5 separate regions of the Homo sapiens genome follow, and regions 1, 3, 4 and 5 are each linked to region 2. The links are contacts of gene promoters, found by promoter capture Hi-C in human tissues and cell types (Jung and others, 2019). All regions are on one chromosome and are shown on one strand. The core of a region is centred on a gene start or on the middle of the fragment in contact, and the rest is flanking DNA. Distances in the headings are between cores, read along the strand shown.

Evidence for each region. The method cuts DNA at HindIII sites, captures the fragments that hold promoters and counts their contacts. A contact is called where the count stands out against the background at its distance.
Region 1: a fragment that was not itself captured here is called in contact with the fragment with the promoter of HIPK4 in region 2 in 1 of the 25 tissues and cell types used here (dorsolateral prefrontal cortex).
Region 3: a contact is called between a fragment that was not itself captured here and the fragment with the promoter of HIPK4 in region 2, in 1 of the 25 tissues and cell types used here (dorsolateral prefrontal cortex).
Region 4: a contact is called between a fragment that was not itself captured here and the fragment with the promoter of HIPK4 in region 2, in 2 of the 25 tissues and cell types used here (bladder and spleen).
Region 5: a contact is called between the fragment with the promoter of MIA here and the fragment with the promoter of HIPK4 in region 2, in 1 of the 25 tissues and cell types used here (spleen).

The regions. Positions count from the first base shown.
Region 1 is chr19:40,755,897-40,761,087 of GRCh38, forward strand. SNRPA (small nuclear ribonucleoprotein polypeptide A) reads left to right here. Exons shown (of 6, transcript NM_004596.5): 2 at 1,436-1,608; 3 at 3,535-3,714. Among named protein-coding and RNA genes, the nearest start is that of SNRPA, 7.3 kb to the left of the region's middle. The HindIII fragment of the contact is 9,764 bases long and covers 1-5,191 here.
Region 2 is chr19:40,388,855-40,393,744 of GRCh38, forward strand. HIPK4 (homeodomain interacting protein kinase 4) reads right to left here and starts at 1,327. Exons shown (of 4, transcript NM_144685.5): 1 at 584-1,327. The coding sequence starts at 1,048. RefSeq lists enhancers at 680-1,229, 1,230-1,779. The HindIII fragment of the contact is 19,093 bases long and covers 1-4,890 here.
Region 3 is chr19:40,092,037-40,096,804 of GRCh38, forward strand. No RefSeq gene overlaps it. Among named protein-coding and RNA genes, the nearest start is that of ZNF780A, 3.5 kb to the left of the region's middle. RefSeq lists an enhancer at 2,609-2,698. The HindIII fragment of the contact is 3,361 bases long and covers 1-3,256 here.
Region 4 is chr19:40,658,560-40,663,095 of GRCh38, forward strand. No RefSeq gene overlaps it. Among named protein-coding and RNA genes, the nearest start is that of NUMBL, 30 kb to the right of the region's middle. RefSeq lists a silencer at 4,359-4,536. The HindIII fragment of the contact is 4,666 bases long and covers 1-4,482 here.
Region 5 is chr19:40,771,773-40,776,995 of GRCh38, forward strand. It overlaps MIA (MIA SH3 domain containing), which reads left to right and starts at 3,749. Exons shown (of 4, transcript NM_006533.4): 1 at 3,749-3,897; 2 at 3,980-4,113; 3 at 5,197-5,223. The coding sequence starts at 3,771. It overlaps MIA-RAB4B (MIA-RAB4B readthrough (NMD candidate)), which reads left to right and starts at 3,765. Exons shown (of 10, transcript NR_037775.1): 1 at 3,765-3,897; 2 at 3,980-4,113; 3 at 5,197-5,223. The HindIII fragment of the contact is 14,863 bases long and covers 1-5,223 here.

The sequences.
Region 1 (5,191 bases), core at 403-2,902, 370 kb after region 2:
CTGAGAACCTGTTTCCAGTAAAATTGGGACAGTCATAGTTGCCACCTAATGGGTTTGTTGTGAGGAAGTGAAGTTACCTCCATAAAGCATTTGATGGGGGTGCGATGACTCATGCCTGTAATCCCAGCACTTTGGGGAAGCCAAGGCAGGAGGATCACTGGAGCCCAGGAGTTCAAGACCAACCTGGCCAACATAGGAGACTGTGTCTACAAAAAATAAAAAATTAGCCGTGCGTCGTGCTGCGTGCCTATGGTCCCAGCTCCTTGGGAGGCTGTGGTGGGAAGATTGCTTGAGCCTGGGAGGTCAGGCCTGTAGTAAGCTACCATCATGCCACTGAACTCCACCCTGAGCAGTAGAAGGAGATTCTGTCTTTAAAAAAAAAAAAAGGCACTTGATGGTATCTAGTCAAATGTTTGCAGCCAGGTGTGGTGGCACACTCCTGTAATCCCAGCACTTTCGGAGGCCAAGGTGGGCTAATTGCTGAAGCTCAGGAGTTCAAGACCAGCCTGGGCAACATAGCAAGACCCTGTCTCTGCACAAAATCCAGAAATTAGCTGGGCATGGTGGCATACACCTGTGGTCCCAGCTACTCCATAGGCTGAAGTGGGAGGACCGCTTGAGTCCGGGAGGTTGAGGCTACGGTGAGCCATGATCATGCCACTGCACTCCAGCCTGGGTGACAAAGTGAGACCTTGTCACCAAAAAAAAAAAAAAAAAATTGTGGTGGAGTCTGTGCTAGGCTTGGCATACTGCAGTAAACAAATGGGACAGGCTTATAGCTCCTCAGGCAAGATAGACAAGTTAACGTACCATGACAGGAGGTGGGAAATAGTCATGAAAGAAAAGGAAGTAGAGTAAGAATGACATGGGAAGAAATTTAGACGTCGTGGTCAGAGGTGGCAACATTTCCTCTGAGACTGGGTGACTAGAAGGAGGCCACCATGTAAACCTCAGGGGAGGGATGTTCCAGGTAAAGAGAGCAGCCAGTTCAAAGGCCCTGGGGCAAAATTGGTGTGTCAGACCTGGGGGCCAGTGTGGTTGGGAACTCAGGAGGGCGGTGGAATGTGGGCAGGGATGAGGTGGGGGAAATCTGCCAGGGCCACGTCATGCAGGCCCATGTCAGGGTGCTGGTGGCAGTGAAAAGAATCACTCATTTATCGAGTGTTTACTACGTGCCGGATGCTGTCCTGAGCACTTTGCATGTATGTGCACATGTTCATTATATAGCAGCTCTCTGTAAGCACATCTTACAGAAGAGTAGAAGAGTGTACTTGGCCACTTGAGTGGTTCCTGGCTGCTTCTGTGATTGTTAGGTCTTGAGAGATTATGGACCCGAGGCATTCTGGGTACCCCATCAATTGGCTGATGGTCTTCTATTTGGGCTGCGCTTCTTCTAAAAAGGGGAGCTCAAAGGTCTTTTTTTCCCCCACTGCAGAGCTAAAAAAGTCCCTGTACGCCATCTTCTCCCAGTTTGGCCAGATCCTGGATATCCTGGTATCACGGAGCCTGAAGATGAGGGGCCAGGCCTTTGTCATCTTCAAGGAGGTCAGCAGCGCCACCAACGCCCTGCGCTCCATGCAGGGTTTCCCTTTCTATGACAAACCTATGGTGAGCATTGCGGGTACGGAGGCTGTGTGGGTGTGTAAAATGTTATAGGAGACTGGGCGGGCCTGGATTAGAGGAGGGGATATTACGGTTCATTTGCCAAGGTGAGGCTGGACCAGGCTCCCACTGCACCTTGCCTCATTTAAAAATCTTTTCTTTGGCCGAGGGCGGTGGCTCACGTCTGTAATCCTGGCACTTTGGGAGGCCGAGGCAGGTGGATTACCTGAGCTCAGGAGTTTGCAGCCAGCCTGGGCAACACCGTGAAACCCTGTCTCTACTAAAATACAAAAATTAGCTCGGTGTGGCAGCATGCACCTGTAGTCCCAGCTACTCCTGTGGCTGAGGAAGGAGAATTGCTTGAACCCGGGAGGCAGAGATTGCAGTGAGCCGAGATCCTGCCACTGCACTCCAGCCTAGGCAACAGAGTGAGACTCTGTCTCAGAAAAAATAAATAAATAAATAAATAAATAAATAAATTATTTTGAGACAGAATCTTCCTCTGTTGCCCAGGCTGGAGTGCAGTGGTGCAATCTTGGCTCACTGCAACCTCCACCTCCCGGGTTCAAGTGATTCTCCTGCCTCAGCCTCCTGAGTAGCTGGGATTACAGGCACGTGCCACCATACCTGGCTGATTTTTTTATTTTTAGTAGAGACGGGGTTTCGCCATGTTGCCCAGGCTGGTCTCAAACTCCTGAGCTCAAGTGATCTGCCTGCCTCAGCCTCCCAAAGTGCTAGGATTACAGGCGTGAGCTACTGTGCCACACTAAGAATCTTTAACATACCTTCCCCTACTGAATAAGCACCATGAAAGAGGGGTTTTTGTCTATTTTGTTCATTGCTTTATTCCCAGAGCCTTGAATGGCGCCTGGCATCTGGCAGGTTCTCCTTAAACAGCTAAGTGAGTGAGATTGAACCTGGAAGACTGAAGTATTCTTGTGTGACAGGAAATCCCCCTGCACTGCACTCCTCTCCTAGCATTGTCTCCTCGGTCCTTTGGCCTGATGTTTATTGCTGTTCCAGCTTCCCTTAAAAATACCAACAGCCTTTCTACTGAACACTTGCTTACTGTGTGTCAGGTACTGTTCCAAGCACTTTAACTCATTTAGTCCTCACAACAGTCCTTTGAAGTGGGAAGTATCATAATCCCCATTTTTCAGACAAGGAAGTTAAGGCCAAGATATTTCTGTGTTTCTCAGTAAGCTCCTGATAAGGTCTGAATTTTTTTTTGTTTGTTTGTTTTTTGTTTTTTGTTTTTTGCTCTGTTGCCTGGGCTGGAGTGCAGTGGTGCCATCTCAGCTGACTGCAACCTTCGCCTCCTGGGTTCAAGCGATTCTTCTGCCTCAGCCTCTTGAGTAGCTGGGACTACAGGTGCGCACCACCATGCCCAGCTAATTTTTGTATTTTTGGTAGAAATGGGGTTTCCTGGCCAGGCGCAGTGGCTCATGCCTGTAATCCCAGCACTTTCGGAGGCCGAGGTGGGTGGATCACCTGAGGTCAGGAGTTCGAGACCAGCCTGGCCAACATGGTGAAACCCTGTCTCTACTAAAAGCACAAAAATTAGCCAGGCGTGGTGGTGGGCGCCTGTAATCCCAGCTAGTAGGGAGGCTGAGGCAGAATTGCTTGAACCCGGGAGGCAGAGGTTGCAGTCAGCTGAGATCTCATCACTGCACTCTAGCCTGGGTGACAGAGCAAGACAATGTCTCAAAAAAAAAAAAAAAAGAAAAGAAACAAAGAAATGGGGTTTTGCCATGTTGGCCAAGCTGGTCTCCACCTCCTGGCCTCAAGTGATCTGCTCGCTTTAGCCTCCCAAAGGGCTGGGATTACAGGCATGAGCCGCAGCACCTGGCCCCTGATAAAGGTCCAATTTTGAATCTTGGCAATTGGGCTCTGAATCCACGCTCTTAACCCGTTCTGCTCTCTGTTTGGTAGCGTATCCAGTATGCCAAGACCGACTCAGATATCATTGCCAAGATGAAAGGCACCTTCGTGGAGCGGGACCGCAAGCGGGAGAAGAGGAAGCCCAAGAGCCAGGAGACCCCGGCCACCAAGAAGGCTGTGCAAGGCGGGGGAGCCACCCCCGTGGTGGGGGCTGTCCAGGGGCCTGTCCCGGTAAGCCAGGTCCCGGAGACCAACCCTCCCACTGCCAGACCTTCCTCAGCCACATGGACTGGCTTTGGGACAGGGTGGGGAGAGTTCTCCCCTTGGGGCTTCAGACCCCTCCTTTCCATTTCTTTATAGAGATGTGTTTCTCTCTCTCTTTTGGGGGGTATTGAGCACCTAGATGATGCTATCTCCTTTCGAAACTCTTGTTCCCTCCTTGTGACTGTTTCTCAAGGTCTTTCTTCATGGCTATGACTTGGTTTCGCTCTCTCCGTGGCCTTGATTTTGTCGCCTGTGTCTTGTAACTCATTGTGCATGTAGAAAATCCAAGTGTCTACTAAGCAACTGTTAGGATTAATAAGTGAACTTAAATTTAGAAAGATCGCTGGATATAAAGGCAATATGGAAAAAAATTAGTTTTATTTATTTATTCATATTATGTTTTGAGACAGGGTCTCACTGTCACCCAGGTTGGAGTGCAGTGGCGCCATCACAGCTCACTACAACCTCCGCCTCCCAGGCTCAAGTGATACGCCTCAGCCTCCCTAGCAGCTGGAACTGTCAGTCCGTGCCACTCCACCCAGCTAACTTTTGCATTTTTTGTAGAGACGGGGCTTAGCCATATCACCCAGGCTAGTCTCAAACTCACTGTCTCAGCCTCCCAAAGTGCTAGGATTACATGCATGAGCCACCATGGCTGGCCCCCAGTTTTATTTTTATATGCCAGTAACAGACCAGTAGACTTCACATTGAAAAGTAGCACTGAGGGGTAAATCCAACAAAAGGTTTGCAGAACGACTACACTGAAATCACAGAATGTAGCTGGGAGAAATCAGAGACTCAGCAATGGATAGGAAGACTCAGTATTGTCAAGAGGTCAGTTCCATCCAAATTAATTGAAGATTCAACGTGATTGCAATCAAAATCCCACCAGGAATTTCGGTAAACACTGGACACTGATTGGCTCTTTCTAAATGTGTGGAAAGACAAGGCCAAGCCAGGCGAGGAGAATAAAGCACCAGGACCTGCATGACCAGGGGAAGCTCCAGCAACCAGGCCAGGCCCAATGGCTCATGCCTGTAATCCCAGCACTTTGGGAGGCCAAGATAGGAGGATTGCTTTAGGTCAGGAGTTCAAGACCAGCCTCTATAAAATAGCAAGACCTCATCTCTACAAAAAATAAAATAGAAAACTGGGCGTGGTGACTCATTCCTGTAGTCCCAGCTGCTCAGGAGGCTGAGCTGGGAGGATCGCTTGAGAACTGGAGGTCAAGGCTGCAGTGAACAGTGGTTTTGTCACTGCACTCCAGCCTGGGTAACAGAGTGAGACCTTGTCTCTTTTTTGTTTTGTTTTGTTTTCTTTTGTTTTTTTTCGGGAGGGAGTCTCAGTCAATCTGTCTCCCCAGGCTGGAATGCAGTCGTGCAATCTCGGCTCACTGCAACCTCTGCCTCTCAAGTTCAAGTGATCTTCTGCCTCAGCCTCCCAA
Region 2 (4,890 bases), core at 77-2,576:
CTGGGCAACATGATGAAATCCTGTTTCTACCAAAAAACACAAAAATTGGCTGGGCGTGGTGGCTCACGCCTGTAATCCCAGCACTTTGGGAGGCTGAGGCAGGTGGATCACAAGGTCAGGAGTTTGAGACCAGCCTGGCCAACATGGCGAAACTCCATCTCTACTAAAAATACAAAAATTAGCCGGGCATGGGTGGCGGGCACCTGTATTCCCAGCTACTCAGGAGGCTGAGGCAGGAGAATCGCTTGAACCCGGGAGGCGGAGGCAGTGAACCAAGATCATGCCATCATCACCCCGTCTCTGATAAGTACAAAAAAAAAATTAGCTGGGCGTGGTGGCGCATCCCTGTAATCCCAGCAACTCGGGAGGCTGAGGCAGGATAATCACTTGAACCCAGGAGGCGGAGTTGCAGTGAGCTGAGATTGTGCCACTGCACTCAAGCCTGGGTAACAGAATGAAACTCCGTCTCAAAAATAATAATAATAATAATTTTAAAAAATTAAAAAAAAAATCTAGGGCTGGAAGAAGCTGGGAAAAAGACAAGGAACTAGGGACGCAGCCACCCTAGACGACCCCTACTCACCTTGACCCTGAAGGGGCAGCGGGTCTGGTCCACCAGCATGATGTTCTCAGGCTTGAGATCAGCGTGGATGATAGCCAGCTCCTTGAGCCGGGCCAGGGCTGTGAGCACCTGCAGGGTGACTGTACGGATGTGGCGGGCGGGGAGGGGCGCGAAGTTGTTCTCCTTCTGGAACTCGAAAAGGTTTTGCTCCAGCAGCTCAAAGACCAGGTAGAACTTGAGGGCGTCATGGAAGAACTCAAGGAAGCGGATGACGTGGGCCTCTTCAGGGTCTAGGCCTCGCATGCAGTGCAGCAGCTTCAGCTCGTTCTTGATGATGCGGTTGCGGTAGGCGTCATTCTTGAGGATCTTGATGGCCACCATCTCGCCCGTGCTCCGCCGCCAGCCCTTGGCTACCTCCCCGAAGGTCCCCTTGCCCAAGACCTCGATGATGTCGTAGCAGTCAGTCTCCGACTGGATGGTGGACATGGTGCCGCTGCTGCCAGACACCGCCCTGCCCAGGCCCCTGTACCACTGGCTCTGCCGCCCAGGCCTCCCGCCTGGCTGCTGACACAGCAGGCCCCCCAGTGGGGGAAAGAGAACCGCACTCGTGTCTCCTCCTATGAGGTTGGCCCCTGCTTCCCTGGCACCCCCAAACCCCCAGGCCACACTGTCAGTCTGCCAGGGGCTGCACCCCTCCCCAGAAACCCTCCTGGCTTGGGATGAGGGGCCCCAGGCCCCACCGAATGGGTTCCAGCGCTGTTGAGTGGCTCTGGTTCTGTTGTTGGAGACCTGAGCCCTGGCTGGAGTGGGGGTGGGGTACCAGGCTGGGCCCCCTCCCCCGCCCAGTGGCGGAATCTTGCAAAGACCAAACAGGTGAAGTGTTGACAGAGGGGGGTCTAATCGTGGGCCTTGGGCATACAGGAATGGGGATAAGGCAGGAGTGAGGAAAGGTGGGCTTCTTGAGCTTGGGAGATGTGATGTGTGTGTGTCTGTGTTCAGAAAACTCCTGTCCCAGTCTGTGGCTACTGTGGGGTGAGGTTGTAAAAGGCCCTGAATGCCAGGCTAAGGAGTTTGGATTCTGTTCTGAGGGCACTGGGGAGCCACAGAAGGGCTTTGAGCAGGGGAGGGCAGGGTCAGATATGAGTGTCAGAAAGTTACTGTATGAAAAGGGATAGGTTGGAGCGGGTAAGAGTGGAAGCCCCAAGCCAGGGAAAGAGTCCAGGACAGGGCACAGATGGGAGAGGTTGGGGAGGAGAGGGCGAGGCCAATGGATGAGACACTCAAAAGGCCAGGAGAAGCAGCCGTGAGACCGACGGTTTGAGGGAAAGGCGGGAGCTGTCTAAGAACGGGCCTAGGGCTCTGGGATGAAGGGGCAGTCCCCGAGAAATGGACATGGATAAGAAGCAGCTTGGGGGAGATGTTGAGGCCAAATTAGAAAATGTATTTATTTTTGGCTGGGTGCGGTGGGTCACGCCTGTAATCCCAGCACTTTGGGAGGCCAAGGAAGGCAGATCATAAGGTCAGGAGATCGAGACCATCCTGGCTAACACGGTGAAACTCTGTCTCTACTAAAAATACTAAAAATTAGCCAGGCATAGTGGAGGGCGCCTGTAGTCCCAGCTACTCGGGAGGCTAAGGCAGAAGAATAGCTTGAACCCGGGAGGTGGAGGTTGCAGTGAGCCGAGATTGCACCACTGCACTCCAGCCTGGGTGACAGAGCGAGACTCCATCTCAAAAAAAAAAAAAAAGTGTTCATTTTTATTTATCTTTTTAATTTTTTGTAGAAATGGGGTCTCACTATGTTGTCCAGGCTGGTCTCAAGTGATCCTCCTGGCCTCAAGTGATCCTCCTGCCTCAACCTTCCAAAGTGCTGGGATTGTAGACATGAGCCACCACTCCAGCCAGATTAGAATATTTAACAGCGGGCCGGGCTCGGTGGCTCATGCCTGTAATCCCAGCACTTTGGGAGGCTGAGGCAGGTGGATCACCTGAGGTCGGGAGTTCGAGACCAGCCTGACCAACATGGAGAAACCCCGTCTCTACTAAAAATACAAAATTAGCCGGGTGTGTTAGCACATGCCTGTAGTCCCAGCTACTCAAGAGGCTGAGGTCGGCAGGCTGAGGTATGAGAACTGCTTGAACGCGGGAGGTGGGGTTGCAGTGAGCCAAGATTGCGCCATTGCACTCCAGCCTGGGCAACAAGAGTGAAACTCCGTCTCAAAAAAAAAAAAAAAAGTAAAAGAAAATGTAACATCAAAACATTTAAACAAGGATGAAGTTCTTTAGAAGTCTTATCTGATCCTTACAACATACAAAGTAGGGATTTTATGGAAGAGAAAATCAAGGCACAAAGAAGTTTTTAAAGTGCCTGGCCAGGAGTGGTGGCTTACGCCTGTAATCCCAGCACTTTGAGAGGCCAAGGTGGGCGGATCACCTGAGGTCAGGAGTTTGAGACCAGCCTTGCCAACATGACAAAACCTCAACTCCACTAAAAATACAAAAATTAGCTGGGCATGGTGGTATACACCTGTAGTTCCAGCTACTTGGGAGGCTGAGATCGGGAGGCTGAGGTATGAGAATCGCTTGAACCTGGAAGGCGGAGGTTGCTGTGAGCCAAGATTGCACCACTGCACTCCAGCATGGGCAACAGAGTGAGACTCTGTCTCAAAAAATAAAAATAAATAAATAAATGATAAAATAAAATGCCTAAGGTCACTCAAGTGACTGCCAGAGACAGCCTCTGACCCTAAGCAGCCTGGCTCCAGCGCCAAACTCTGAACCACCACCCACACAACCTCCTAAAAACCAGGAGACCTCTGGAGAAGGGGTGCAGAAGCTGCTGGGTCCCCAAGGGGATGCAGGAGAGAGTTTGGGAGTTGTCAGCACAGAGAGGAGGCGTGGAAGCCATGGGGGAGGGTGATGCACCCTAGGGAGGGTGTGGGGGTGGACAAGGGCCCGGGAGGAACCTCCGGTGCCCAAGGAGCACGGGGAGAGAGAGGTGTGGGGAAGAGGAGCAAGTGTCAGGAAGATCGAAGGGGCCTTGAAGAGTCAGGACAAGAGAGACAAAGGAAACCCTCAGGCGTGGCCACGGGGAGGTCACTGCTGACACAGACAAGGTAGGAGGAAAACCCCAAATGCTGGGGTCTTGGAAATGGGGGTGCACTGTGAGTGTAGATAACTCCTGCCATGTTTGGTGGGGGCAAAGAAAAAGTGTGTGGTGAGACAGTGACCTGAGGAGGGCTGGCTGGAAGGGACAAGGTACTCAAGTGAGTGGGGGATTCTGCCAGGCCCCTCATCCACTGAGACAGGATAGGGAGATGTGAGGAGAGTGGGGGGCTGTCGGGGCGAGACTTGGGACTGGATATTGAGTCTCCTTAGTCCAGTGTGGGACATCACAGAGAGACATGGAGGAGGCTGGAGGCCCTGCTGGGAGCCTCAGGACTTAGATCCTGAATTGGGATGGCAGGGATGGATGGCCCATGGCCCCTGGGAGCTGAGACCAGCACTGACAGGTGCTGAGGACCCTGGGACCTAGTTCCAAGAGGCGGCTGTGTTTCTGGGGTAGAGGCTTTGAGGGGACCAGGAGCAGCCTTCCTGGGTGGGGCCAGAGTGGACAGGGCAGTCAAACCAGCCAGACAGGAAAGAGAAGGCCAGGATGTGCAGAAGTGCCCTCACCGGCAGAGGGCAGGTGGGGAGCAACCAGCCTGGTAGGAGTGGGTCCCCCAGGACAGGCAGGCTTCCTGGCAGAGGGGTCCCGAAGCTGTGCTCTGCCAGGGAACATCCCAGAGTCCTCTTTAACAACCCCTGGGAATTCTCAAGGGCTAGGGACGTCTCCCTTCCCACCACGGCCTGTCCCAAGGCCATCCTGAGTCTTTGTTTTTGTTTTTGTTGAAACAGTCTGGCTCTGTTGCCTAGGCTGGAGTGCAGGGGCACCATCAAGGCTCACTGCAGCCTCGACCTCCCGGGCTCAAGTGATCCTCCCACCTCAGCCCCCCGAGTAGCTGGGATTACAGGCACGGGCCACCATGCCTGGATATTTTTTGTATTTTTTGTAGGGATGAGGTTTCCCTATGTTTCCCAGGCTGGTCTTAAACTCCTGGGCTCAAGCAGTCCTCCTGCTTTGGCCTCCCAAGTGCTGGGCTTACAGGCATGAGCCACTGCGCCCAACCCGCCCTGACTCTTCTCAGACCAGGTATGACCGGTTTCTCCCCTCACACCAGAGGTTCCCCTCAGGCCAGGCTCAGGCGACCCCTAGAACCTCCTCTTTGGAGACTGCCTTCTCTGCATCTCCCCTATACCCACTCCTGCCCCTCCCTGCCCCCTATGCA
Region 3 (4,768 bases), core at 326-2,825, 300 kb before region 2:
TGAGAACACTTGGACACAGGGTGGAGAACATCACACACCGGGGCCTATAGTGGGGTCGGGGGAGGGGGAAGGGATAGCATTAGAAGATATACCTAATGTAAATGACGAGTTAATGGGTGCAGCACACCAACATGGCACATGTATACATATGTAACAAACCTGCACTTTGTGCACATGTACCCTAGAACTTAAAGTATAATAAAAAAAGATAATTAAATAAATAAATAAACAAAAAGTCAGACCCAAATGGGTGCTACCTACAGGTAATATGTTAAATGAAAAGCACTAAAAGGTTAAGAGTAAAAGGATGGAAAAATATACACCATCCTAACACTAGTCAAAAGAAAGCTGGAGTGGCTTTATTAAAAACAAAGTAGACTCCGGACATAGACTATTACCAGAGATAAAGAAGGGCATAATAATGATAAAGGAGATAGCTCATCGAGTAGAAAAAAACAAACATAAATTTTGCTCCTAAAAGCAAAGCTTCTAAGTATGGGAAGAAAAATCTATTAGATCGAAAAGGAGACAGATCCACAATTATAGTCAGATATTTCAATATATCTCTCTTGGTAATTGATAGAACAAACACAGAAAAGCAACAGGGTATAGCAGATTTGAGCTACATATCAACTTACTTGATCTCATTTATATTTGAGAACACTCTCCTCAATGACAGTAAAATTCATCTATGTGGACAGGGGATACTTACCAGTATAGGCCATATTCTGGGCCATAAAACAAGTCTCAATAAATGTAAGAGGATTCGAGTCATACAAAGCATATTCTTTGACAAAAATGGAATTAAATTAGAACTCAATAATAGCTGAATATATAATATATTGTCCAAAGTAGTACAAATTCGAAAAGGTATGAATACTAAGGTAATTGAAATTATGTAATGTTTGAAAAATTCCTGTATTAATTATAATATTCTGTTATATCCTAAAGGGTGAAACAATAACATATATACGTTAAAGCAAAATAACAATTTTGTAGTAAGGAAAAAAATTTTTAAGCTATTTATGTTGACTAAACATTAGAATAAAGCGGAGAATAATTATATTTAAGTATATTCTGATACTTTAATCGATTTCCTAACCAATATCACCATTCTTTTTAAGTATTTTCTTTCAATGTGGTCTATTATTTTTAAATTTTGATAAAATTTTATGCAATCTTCAATGTTGGACTTTATGTTTAATAAACTCAAAATTATAGCTACCTTCAAATGACTCTTCTCTGAACACCATACTTTTTAAACTGAGATATATACTCTGTATATACTAAGGTAACCAGAAGTCTCAGAATATATCCAATGAAATGGAAGATATCCTCACAAGTATTGTGAATATTGAATATGGAAAAATTAGATTGCAGTTCATATTCTTGTAGTTAATGTATCTTGCCTTCAAGGTACATCTCTTTTTTTGCCATCTCTTTTTTGTACCCTAAGAAGGGTACATTTCTTTGATAATTATCTTTACAAGGCAAACATATTGGTTCTATTTATGATTCCTTTGAATGTTAAGCCAAATTTAGATGCTGCAGTAACATAAGGCTTCTCAACTGCGCTCCATTCTGACACAAATTGCAAATTGATCCAGTTAAAAATTGGAGCATCATCAAAAGACTATTCCCATAGCTGAAGAAATTCCTCAGTAAAATTGAAGAATTTCAAAATTAAATCCTGTATGCCATCTGATATTTCATGACTTAATTCATTCAGTTTCTTTCTTAATTTGTAGGACTAAATCCCATTGTCTTCATGTTGGCCAGTTCTGATAACTGAAATTCAGTTGAATTTCTATGTTGAATAGGAGTGGTAAGAGAAGACATCTTTGTCTTGTGCCAAATCAACACAATCTTAAACAACCAAAGGATTAAAGAATGAATACAAAAATTTAGAAAATATTTTAGATAAATACAAATAAAAACACATGTTACCAAAGTTTATGATATGCTTATTACTAAGAGAAAAATTTATAGCTCTACATGCCTATATAAAAGAAGAAAGATGTCAAATCAACAACCTAACTGTACAACTTTAGGAATTAGAACATGAAAAATAGCAAAACAATAAATAAATAGAAGACAAGAAAGGAAGGAAATAATAAAAATAAGAGTGGAGTTAAATAGAGAATAGAAAAATAATACAGAAAAATTACAAAATTAAAAGTGGTTCTTTGAAAAGATCAAAAGAAGTAGCAAAATCTTAGCTGGATTGACTGAGAAAAAAATAGAAAAGACTCAAATTACTAAAGTCAGAGGTGAAAGTGGAGACATTACTAACCTTACAGAAATGAAAATGATTATAGAAGAATATTATAAACAATTGTATGCCAACAAAATAAACTAAATGGAAAGGAACAATTCTTTTTTTGCAATATTTATTTATTATTATACTTTTAAGTTCTGGGATACATGTGCAGAATGTGCAGGTTTGTTACATAGGTATACACGTGCCATGGTGGTTTGCTGCACCTATCAACCTGTCATCTACATTAGGTATTTCTCCTAATGCTATCCCTCCTCTAGTCCCCCACCCCCGACAGGCCCCAGTGTGTGATGAGGAACAATTCTTTACACAAACTGTCACTGATTCAAGAAGAAATAGAAAATCTTAAGAGGAGTGATGTCAGCAAGATTGGAGAATGGGACTTTCCAGCACTTAGCCCTCACATCAATTTAAACATCTGTTTACTCATGAACAAACTTTCACAAGAGCTAAAGTATCCAAGTAAGAGATTAGAGCACCTTGCTGTAGCACAGAAACAGGAAAAGATACATTAAAGAGGCTAAGAAGGAGCGTTTTGCATTACCTAGTCCATCACTCTCCCAAGCCCAGCCCAGAAATTATAGTGTGGTGAGATACCCTCCGTGTTAGAGGATGAATAAAGTGAACACCAACTTTGCTGTGGACCCTGGCAGCAGGACTACTCCACTGAAACCCAATGACCAGCTGGCCCCCTTGACCCAAACTCCAAGGTGGCACCCTCAGCTCCAGGCACAAAGCTGGCACCCACAGATCCAAGCTCCAGGATAACCCCCATGGATACAGGCTGTCAGCCTACCCAGCCCCTGTGGCTCCAGTCTCTAAGCTGGCTCCCATGGTCCTACACTCTGACAAACCCAGGGTTCAAACCCACTCCACCGCATCCAATATCCAGACCTGGCCCAGGAGACCCCAAGTGCCAGGCCAGCTCCTAGAGACCAAAGCTTTAGAACCACACCTAAAAACACAGGCTCCAGGCTGGCCTCCATATCCCTAGGACAGCACCCACAGCCTCAAGCTTCAGACTGACCCCTGTGGAATCCAGACCCAAATATGCCCCAGACCAGACCCAAGCTCCAGGCTGGTTCTTGTGACCCTATGCTCCAGTGGACCCAGGGTCCACGCCTGCCCAAGCGGATCCTGGAAGCAGGGTGACCCCTATGAGCTCAAGACCAAGGCATATTATGGGCCTATGTCCAGACCACCCCAGCACCAGGTCAACCTCTGTGGACCCAGACTTCAGGCTGGTTCCCATGGACAGTCCTCAGGCCTATCCATTTGTTGACCCTGGCACCAGACCAGCATGTCTGATAACTTCAGCAGTAATCCCACCCACAAACTTCTCTATACAGCCCACCCAATATCTCTGATGAAGGGCTTTCACTACCAAAGCTAGTCTGTAAAGACTAGAAGGGATGCCTACTTCTTCAAATGTTCAACACCAAAGCAAGTTCACAAAGATCATGAATAATTAAGAAAACATGACACCAACACAAATCAAAATAAACCATCAGTAACCAACTCTAAAGAAATGAACATTTACAAAATGCCTGGCAAAGAATTCAAAATGACTGTTTTAAAGAAACTCAGTGAGCAAACAAGAGAATACAGATAAACACTAAACAAAATCAGGAAAATGATATAGGAACAAAATTAGAAGTTCAAAAAAGAGATAGAAAACATAGCAAATTTTTGCAAACAAAAATTCTGGAACTAAAGAACACAATAACAGACTGAAAAATTCCATAGAATGCCTGAAGAGCAGACTTAAGCAGAATAAAGAATTAATGAGCTTGAAGACAGGTCATTTAAAAGTTAAAAGACAGGCCAGGTGCAGTGGCTCACACCTGCAATTCCAAAACTTTGAGAGGCCAATGTGGGAGAATTGCTTGAGGCCAGGAGTTGAGACCAGCATGGGCAACATAGTGAGACCTTAATTCTACAAAACAAACAAAATTTTTTAATTTAAAAAAATTTAGCTGGGCATGGTGGTGCAGAGCTGTAGTCCTAACTACTCAGGAGGCTGAGGCATGAGGATAACTCGAGCCCAGGAGTTTGAGGCTGCAGTGAGCTATGTTCATGTCAGTGTACCCTAGCCTGGGTGACAGTGAGACTCTGTCCCAAACAAAACAAAACAAGCTAAAAGGATTAAAAATGACTATAACTACAACAATTTGCCTATGGGTACATGATATATACAAGATACAAATTATACTTTGGAAGGCCGAGTTGGGCAGATCACTTGAGGTCAAGAGTTCAAGACAAGCCTGGCCAACATGGTAAAATCCCTTCTCTACTAAAAATACAAAAATTAATTGGGTGTGGTGGCATTTGCCTGTAGTCCCAGCTACTCAGGAGGCTAAGGCAGGAGAATCACTTGAACCCTGGAGACAGAGGTTGCAGTGAGCTGAGATCATGCCACTACACTCCAGTCTGGGTGATAGGGTGAGACTCTGTCTCAAAAAAAATAAAAAAGGTACAAATTATGACATC
Region 4 (4,536 bases), core at 900-3,399, 270 kb after region 2:
AGTCTATCCCTAAATAACTGAGGGTCCCAGGAATTTAATCATGTCAGTGCAGCCTTTTTACATTTTCTCTTTCTTTTTTTTTTTGATGGAATCTCACTCTGTTGCTCAGGCTGGAGTGCAGTGGTATGATCTCGGCTCACTGCAACCTCTGCCTCCCGGGTTCAAGCCATTCTCCTGCCTCAGCCTCCTGAGTAGCTGGGACTACAGGCATGTACCACCACATCTGGCTAATTTTTTTTTTTTTAGTAGAGACGAGGTTTTGCCAAGTTGGCCGGGCTGGTCTCAAACTCCTAACTTCAGGTGATCTGCCCGCCTCGGCCTCCCAAAGTGCTAGCATTACAGTTGTGAGCCACTGTGCCAGGCCTTTTTTTTTTGTTCTTGTTGCCCAGGCTGGAGTGCAGTGGCATGATCTCGGCTCACTGCAACCTCCACCTCCTGGGTTCAAGTGATTCTCCTGCCTCAGCCTCCCGACTAGCTGGGATTACAGTCATGAGCCACCACACCTGGCTAATTTTTGTATTTTTTTTTTTAGTAGAGACAGGGTTTTGCCATGTTGGTCAGGCTGGTCTTGAACTCCCAACCTCAGGTGATCCACCCTCCTTGGCCTCCCAAAATGCTAAGATTACAGGCGTGAGCCACTCCGCCCAGCCCAGTCTTTTTACATTCTTAACTGAAGAAAAATGGGTGCCCTTCAAAGATTTTAAGATTAGGAAACAAAAAGTCAGAAGGAGCCAAATTGGGACTGCCAAGTGGATGCCTAATAATTTCCCATCAAAACTTGTAAAATTGCTCGTTTGATGAGGAGAATGAGCAGAAGCGTAGACATGCTGGAGAAGAACTCTCTGGTGAAGCTTCCCAGGCTTATTTCTACTAAAGCTTCGGCTAACTTTCTCAAAACACTCTCATAATAAGCAGATCTTATTATTCTTTGACCCTACAGAAAGTCAACCAGCAAAATGCCTTGAGCATCCCCAAAAACTGTTGCTATGACCTTTGCTCTTGACCAGTGTGCTTCTGCCTTGACTGGATCACTTCCCCGCTCTTGGCAATCATTCTCTGATTACGATTTGTCTTTAGGATTGCACCCGTGAAACCATGTATCATTTCCCGTTACAATCCTTCAAGGAAATGCATTAGGATCTCGATCTCACTTGTTTAGCATGTCCATGGAAAGCTCTGCTCTTCTCTGCAGCTGATCTGGGTGCGACCGTTCTGGCACCCATCGAGTGGAAAGTTTGTTTAGCTTTAATTTCAGTCAGAATTGTGTAAGCTGAGGCCGGGTGAGGTGGCTCAAGCCTGTAATCCCAGCAGTTCGGGAGAATGAGGCAGGAGGATCACTTGTGTCCAGGAGTTCAAGACCAGCCTGGGAAACCTAATGAGACCCCCATCTCTACAAAAAATACGAAAATTTAGTGTCAGGCCTCTGAGCCCAAGCTAAGCCATCATATCGCCTGTGACCTGCACGTATACATCCAGGTGGCCTGAAGCAACTGAAGAGCCACAAAAGAAGTGAAAATAGCCTTAACTGATGACATTCCACCATTGTGATTTGTTTCTGCCCCACCCTAATGATCAATGTACTTTGTAATCTCCCCCACCCTTAAGAAGTTTCTTTGTAATTCTTCCCATCCTTGAGAATGAACTTTGTGAGATCCGCCCCCTGCCCGCAAAACATTGCTCCAAACTCCACCGCCTATCCCAAAACCTATAAGAATTAATCATAATCCCACCACCCTTTGCTGACTCTCTTTTTGGACTCAGCCTGCCTGCACCCAGGTGAAATAAACAGCCTTGTTGCTCACACAAAGCCTGTTTGGTGGTCTCTTCACAGGGACGCGTGTGACACTTAGCTGAACGTGCTGGCACGCACCTGTAGTTCCAACTACTTCGGAGGCTGAGGTGGAAGGATCGCTTGAGCCCAGGAGGTTGAGGCTGCAGTGAGCCACAATCTCACCACTGTACTCAGCCTGGGCGACAGTATGAGAACCCTGTCTCAAAAAAAAAAAAAAAAAAAAAGAAAAAAGAATTGTGTAAGCTGTACCAATTGAGATGTCTATGGTGTTGGCTATTGTTTCTGCTGTTAACTGTAAGTCCTCTTTAATTAAGGCATAAACAAATTTAATTTTTTTCTGCAAAAATTGATGTGGATGGTATGCCACGGTGGGCTTCATCTTCAGCATGACCCAGGCTGGAGTGCAGTGGCGCAATCACGGCTCACTGCAACCTCTACCTCCCAGACTCAAGTGATCCTCCCACCTCAGCCTCCTGAGTAGCTGGAACTACAAGTGTGCACCACCACACCCAGCTAATTTATGTATTTTTTGTACGGATGGGGTTTCACCATGTTACCCAGGCTGGTCTCGAATTCCTGAGCTCCAATGATCCGCTGGCCTCAGCCTCCCAAAGTATTGGGATTACAGGCGTGAACCACCACGCCCGAACTTGTCCCTTCTTAAAACGAGTTATCCATTTGTAAATGGCTGATTTCTCTGGGGCACTGTCAAGTTTTTGGAAAACATCAATGATTTCATCATTCTTCCACCCAAGCTTCACCATCAATTTGATGCTTGTTCTTGCTTCAATTTTAGAATTCGTGTTGCTCTGATAGGGGCTCTTTTCAATCTGATGTTTTATTTTAGTGTCTCAAACTAGGTCCTGTTCAGACAAGTTATAACAAGTTAGTATGAATTTATTTTGGTGCAAAAAAAAAAAATTGAACTCCATGCATAGTTTTTTCATAATACACATTTTCCATGAATTTTTGGAAGACCCTTCTTTTTCTCTCTTTTTTTTTTTTTTTTTTTTTTCTGTAGAGATGGTCTTGTTCTGTCACCCAGGCTGGAGTGCAGTGGCACAATCATGGCTCACTGCAGCCTCGACCTCCTGGGCTCAAGCAATCCTCCCACCTCAGCTTCCTGTTACTGGGACTATAGGTGTGCACCACCACACCTTGATAATTAAAAAAAAAAATTTTTTTGTAGAGATCGGGGTGGGGGGGGGGGTCTCACTATATTTTCCAGGCTGGTCTTGAACTCCTGGCCTCAAGTGACCCTCCCCAATCAGCCTCCCAAAGTGCTGGGATTACAGGCACAAGCCACAGTGCCTGGCCAATAAATGTTTTTTGAATGAATGAAGAAATTAGTGCATGGACATATTTTCCCATCAGCTATTACAATAACCAGACTCTGAGTTCCCTGAAGGCAGGGCCTGTGAGTTTCATTGTGTACCCTCAGCCCTCAATAGCTGATAAAAATAAATATTCAGAAAATGCTTGTAAAATGAAGAAGAGAATATGTATGGGACAGAAAGTAGACCAGTGGTTGCCTGGGGCTGGGACAGGGAATAGGGAGCGACTGCAAATGGGCAGAAGGGATCTTTTCAGAGTGATGGAAATGTTCTTGAATTGGCTGTGATGGCTGCAGAACTGTAAAATCACCCAAAATCAGTAAATCACTTATAATAGGTGAATTTTATGACAGGTAGATTATACCTCAGTAAAGCTGTTAAAACAAAACCAGTGTTGAGGGAGGAAATAAATGTTACCTTGGTAATACTGAGGACTCAGTAGTTATCAAGACAGCTCTCTTCCCTGCCCTCATGAGGTTTTCTGTGCAGGGCGGGGACGCCGACCCATTATAGACAGTGACAGCCTAGAGCCATCACGGCGGGATGGTGGGGAGGGGACAGGCAGAGGGGTGGGAGGCCAGGATGGGGGAAGCCCGGGCAGAGAGGTTGGGCTGGAATGGGGGGCACAGGCAGAGGGGTCGGGGCGGGGACTGGTGAGGTGCAGGCAGAGGGCAAAGGGGTCGAGGTCCAGATGGGAGATGTACAGGCAGACGGATCCGGGCCAGGGCGGGGAGGTACAGGCCCAGTTGAGGAGCATAAGGAACCATAGGAGCCCAAAGGAGGCGCCCGACCAGTCAGGGAGGACTTCCCAGAGGGGTGAATGGCTGAGCCAGGGCCTGAAGTATAATGTTCATGAATGCGACAGCAATTTTTTTTTTTTTGAGACCGAGTCTCCCTCTATCACTGGAGTGCAGTGGCTCGATTTCGGCTCACTACAACCTCCACCTACCGGGTTCAAGCGATTCTCCTGCCTCAGCCTCCCGGGTAGCTGGGACTACAGGCGCCCGCCCCCACGTCCGGCTAATGTTTGCATTTTTAGTCGAGACGGGGTTTCGCCATTTTGGCCAGGCTGGTCTTGAACCCCTGACCTCAGGTAATGCACCTGCCTCGGCCTCCCAAAGTGCTGGGATTACAGGCGTGAGCCACCGCGCCCAGCACAATTTTAATTTTTCTTAAACACTTTTCCTGCCTTAGCAAAGTCTTGGAGGGGCGGCCGCCCAGGCGCCGCGAGCGCAAGACCACGAGGGGGCGCTGCTTCACCACGCTAGAGGAGCGCTCCCGGCAACCACGTGGCCCCACAGGTGCGGGAGGTCGGCGAGCGCGCCTGGAGGGTGGACGGGGTAGGTTACGGCCAGGCAGCCCGGGGTGGCGCGTGGCCCTGCGCAGGGCAGTGGAAGCAGCGGGCCCCAG
Region 5 (5,223 bases), core at 2,499-4,998, 390 kb after region 2:
ACAAGCAACTGCATCTCCCCAACAGCTGCCTGAATGAGTTTGGAAGCAGTCCTCCCACCATTCAGCCTTCAGATGAAACTGCACCCCTGGCTGACAGGCTGATTGCAGCCTTATAGCAGACCTTAAGCCTGAGACATTCGACCCACAGAAAAGGTGATAATTTTGGTCTTTTTTTTTCTAAACAGGTTCTTGCTCTAGAGTGCAGTGGCACGATCATGGCTCACTGCGGCCTCTACATCCTGGGTTCAAGTGGTCCTCCCACCTCAACCTCCTGAGTGGCTGGGACTACAGGTTTGTACCACCATGCACAGCTAGTTTTTCTCTTTTTTTCTTCTTTTTGTAGGTACAAGGGTCTCCCTGTGTTACTTAGGCTGGTCTCAAATTCTTAGGCTCTAGCAATCCTCCTGTCTCAGCCTCCCAAAGTGTTGGGATTACAGGCATGAGCCACTGCACTGGGGCAATGTTGGTCTTAGGCTAATTATGCAGCAGGAGATACATGCACTGTGCTTTGGGAATTGAAGTCACTTCTATTTCTTTGTGGCTTCATCAGTAATATGGGGCAGGGGGCACGGTTCCCACAGCTGATTCTTGAGTGTTCTTTCTGAGTATCCTTAATACTTCACACACTATCATATATCTGAACTTTGTTCATTGATTATCTCCCCTTTAATTTTCATTCCTTGATGAATCTCCAGGGTCTGGATTAAGTCCTAGGATACTTTATGTACTCATGAAATCTTCAATGAATGAAGAAATGATTTTTTTTTTTTTTGAGACAGAGTCTCACTCTGTCACCCAGGCTGGAGTGCAGTGGCATGATCTTGGCTCATTGCAACCTCCACCTCCCAGGTTCAAGCAATTCTTCTGCCTCAGCCTCCTGAGTAGCTGGGACTACAGGCATGCGCCACCATGCCTGGCTCATTTTTGTATTTTTCAGTAGTGACAGGGTTTCACCATATTGGCCAGGCTGGTCTTGAACTCCTGACCTCAGGTGATCCACCCACCTCAGCCTCCCAAAGTGCTGGGATTACAGGTGTGAGCCACTGCATCCGGCGGATTTTTTTTTTTTTTTTTTTGAGACAGGGTCTCACTCTCTCGTTCAGGCTGGAGTGCAGTGGCGTGATCTTGGCTCACTGCAGCCTCCACCTCCCAGTTTCAAGTGATTCTGGTTCGGCCTCCCAAGTAGCTGGGACTACAGGTGTGTGCCACCATGCCTGTCTAATTTTTGTATTTTCACCACGTTGGCCAGGCTGGTCTCAAAACTCCTGACCTCAAGTGATCCGCCTGCCTCAGCCTCCCAAAGTGCTGGGATTACAAGAGTGAGCCACCATGTCTGGCCTGAATGAAGAAATAATTTTTTAAAGAGTGTTTTAAAGTGGGGCCGGGTGCGGTGGCTCACACCTGTAATCCCCACACTTTTGGAGGCCAAGGTGGGTGGGTCACTTGAGGTCAGGAGTTTGACACCAGCCTGACCAACATGGTGAAACCCCATCTCTACTAAAAATACAAAATTAGCTGGGCATGGTGGCAGATGCCTGTAATCCCCGCTACTTGGGAGGCTGAGGCAGGAGAATCACTTGAACCCGGGAGGGGGAGGTCACAGTGAGCTAAGATCGTGCCATTGCACTCCAGCTTGGGTGACAAGAGCGAAACAATGTCTCAAAAAAAAAAAAAAAAAAAAAGAAATTGCATTTCAAAGCCAGGTGCAGTGGCTCACACTTATAGTCACAGCTACTTAGGAGGCTGCGGTGGGAGAATAGCTTGAGCCCAGTTGTTCAAGGCTGAGTGAGCTGTGATTGTGGCACTGCACTCTAGTCTGGGTGACAGAGTGAGACCCTGCCTGTAAAAAAAAAAAAATCTTTCAGGCCAGACGCGGTGACTCACTCCTATAATCCCAGCACTTTGGAACGCCGAGGCGGGTGGATCACCTGAGGTGGGGAGTTCGAGACCAGCCTGGCCAACATGGACAAACCCTGTCTCTACTAAAAATACAAAAATAGCCGGGCATGGTGGCACATGCCTGTAATCCCAGCTACTCGGGAGGCTGAGGCAGGAGAATTGCTTGAACTCGGGAGGTGGAGGTTGCAGTGAGCTGAGATTGTACCACTGCAATATGAGACTCCATCTCAAAGAAAAAAAAGAAAAAAAAAAAAAGATAGCATAGCAATGGCTGTGGGCCTGGATACAAGTCTTAGCCTCTCCACTTCTCCACTTCCTGGCTCTGTAAGCCTTAGACAAGTTCCTTAACTCCACACTTCCATTTCCATGTAACAAGGGGTTATAGGCCAGGCATTGGTGGCTCATGCCTGTAATCCCAGTGCTTTGGGAGGCCAAGGCGGGAGGATACTTGGGGACAAGAGTTCAAGACCAGCCCAGGCAGCACAGTAAGACATTGGCTCTAGAAAAATAAAAATAAAAGAAATCATCCAAGAATGGTGACTTGCCTACTATTCTACTCGAGAGGCTGAGAGGGGAGGATTTCTTGAGCCCAGGAGTTTGAGGATGCAGTGAGCTATGATCACATCACTGTACTTCAGCCTGAGCAACAGCAAGATCCTGTCTCAAAAAATTAAATTAGGCTGGGCTTGGTGGCTCATGCCTGTAATCCCAGCACTTTGGAAGGCCATGGTGGGCAGATTGCTTGAGCCCAGGAGTTTGAGACGAGGCTGGGCAACATGACGAAACCCCGGCTCTACCAAAAAATACAAAAAATTAACTGGGCATAATGGTACATGTCTGTGGTCCCAGCTACTCGGTAGGCTGAGGTGGGAGGAATGCTTGAGCCCAGGAAATAGGGGCTACAGTGAACCAGGATCATGCCAGTGCACTCCAACCTGGGCAACAGAGCAAGACTCTACCTCAAAATAATTATTTAAAAAAATGGATTAATTGGGCATAGGTGGCTTGTGCCTGTAGTCCCAGTTACTCAGGAGGCTGAGGTGGGAGGATTGCCTGAGTCTAGGAGGTTGAGGCTGCAGTGAGCCGGGATGGCACCATTGCACTCCACCTGGGCAACAGGGTGAGACCCTGTCTCAAAAAAGAAAAAAAAGGGAGGGGTTATAATCACTCCTCCTGACATGATACAGAGTATCCATTTGAGTTCATAACATAAATATGTACTTGGTGAATGCTCTGTAACTATTGGCTTTTTTATTGTTCCCATTTTACATATAAGGAAGCTGAGGCTTTGTGAGGAGAAATAGCTTAGCCCAGGTCATCCAGTGGGAAGCGTCTGGTGCAGAGGAATAGTGATCATGGTGGGACTTTGCCTAGCCTAAGGTTCAGCATACAATATTCAGTCAGTACTCAAGGGCTGGGCTGTTTCTGGTAATCAAAGGGCTGCCTTGTTCTCCTGCCCCACAGCACAGGAAATTCCAAGGTGGTTTTCTTTACAGGCTCCTCCGCTTCTGTGGCCAGAGGGGACAGCGGAGGAGCCCAGGTACCTAAGCCAACTCAAGAGAAGATGGAATTGAATATTTCAACCACCTTATCTAGGCCTCTGTGATTGTTGAGGAGGGGGCTGTCACTGGGAAAGTTGTGAGCTGCTTTGGACCTTATCTGGGAATTTCCTTGGGCTTACAGCCTTTACCCTATCCTTGAAATGGTTCTGGTTTCATAGCAACTTCTAGGTGGTGTGGGCGAAGTTTGGGACTGGTTTAGGGCGGGGACAAGACCAAGAACACAAGTTTCCTTGTACTACGGGAGAGAGGGAGGGGAGGAAATTGGAGACCCCAGCACCCCCTTGCTCACTCTCTTGCTCACAGTCCACGATGGCCCGGTCCCTGGTGTGCCTTGGTGTCATCATCTTGCTGTCTGCCTTCTCCGGACCTGGTGTCAGGGGTGGTCCTATGCCCAAGCTGGCTGACCGGAAGCTGTGTGCGGACCAGGAGTGCAGCCGTAAGAATGGGGAGGGGAGAATTGGGGGCTTGGGCGTTAGCCTGTGTGGAGGGTGCTGCATTCCCTTCTATTCCTTCCCTAGACCCTATCTCCATGGCTGTGGCCCTTCAGGACTACATGGCCCCCGACTGCCGATTCCTGACCATTCACCGGGGCCAAGTGGTGTATGTCTTCTCCAAGCTGAAGGGCCGTGGGCGGCTCTTCTGGGGAGGCAGCGTGAGTCTTGGGAGAGTGAAAGAGGGAAGGGTACAGAGCTGGGGTAGACTCATTATCCCCATGAAGGGAAGATTTGAGGGGGGTGAACTGAAATAGACATTGTGGGGGGATATTGTTACTTACTTTATTTTATTTGCTTATTATTTTTTAATTTTTTCCGAGACAGAGTCTTGCTCTGTCACCCAGGCTGGAGTGCAATGGCACGATCTCGGCTCACTGTAACCTCCACCTCTTGGGTTTAAGCGATTCTCCTGCCTCAGCCTCCCAAGTACCTGGGATTACAGGCATGCACCACCACACCTGGCTAATTTTTGTATTTTTAGTAGAGACAGGGTTTTACCATATTGGCCAGGCTGGTCTTGAACTCCTGACCTCATGATCTGCCCGCCTTGGCCTCCCGGAGTGCTGGGATTACAGGTGTGAGCCACTGCCCCCCAGCCTATTTTCACTTTATTTACCAATTTTAGGACCTGATATGGTCCCACGTTCTGTTCTAGACACCAAGATACAACAACAAATGATCCTTTTTATTCTAATGGAGGGAAATGAACAAAAAGCAAGGCATAAAAAATAGCAGCAGCCGGGCACAGTAGCTCACACCTGTAATCCCAAGTAAGGCCAAGTTGGGAGGATAGCTTGAGCCCAGGAGTTCGAGACCAGCCTGGGCAACATAGCAAGACCCCCATCTCTATAAAAAAAAATTTAAAATTAACTGGGCTTCATGGCATGTGTCTGTGGTCCCGGCTACTCGGGAGGCTGAGGTGGGAGGATTGCTTGATCCCAGAAGTTGAGGCTGCAGTGAGCCGTGATCATGCTACTGCACCTCAACCTGGGCGACACAATGAGACCCTGTTTCCAAAATAATAATAATAATAAAAGCAAATATGCGCTGCTGTGAGAATTAACAGAGACTTACTTGGGTGTTCAGAAAGGGCCTCTGAACAGGTGGCATTTAAGCTGAGATTCATATGACAAGGATGGAGCAGTTATGTGGAGATCAGGGAGAAGGGAGAATGCAAAGGCCTTCAGCAGGCACAAGCTTGCCATCTTCCCAGACCCTAGCTTTTAACTCCTCTTCCCCAGGTTCAGGGAGATTACTATGGAGATCTG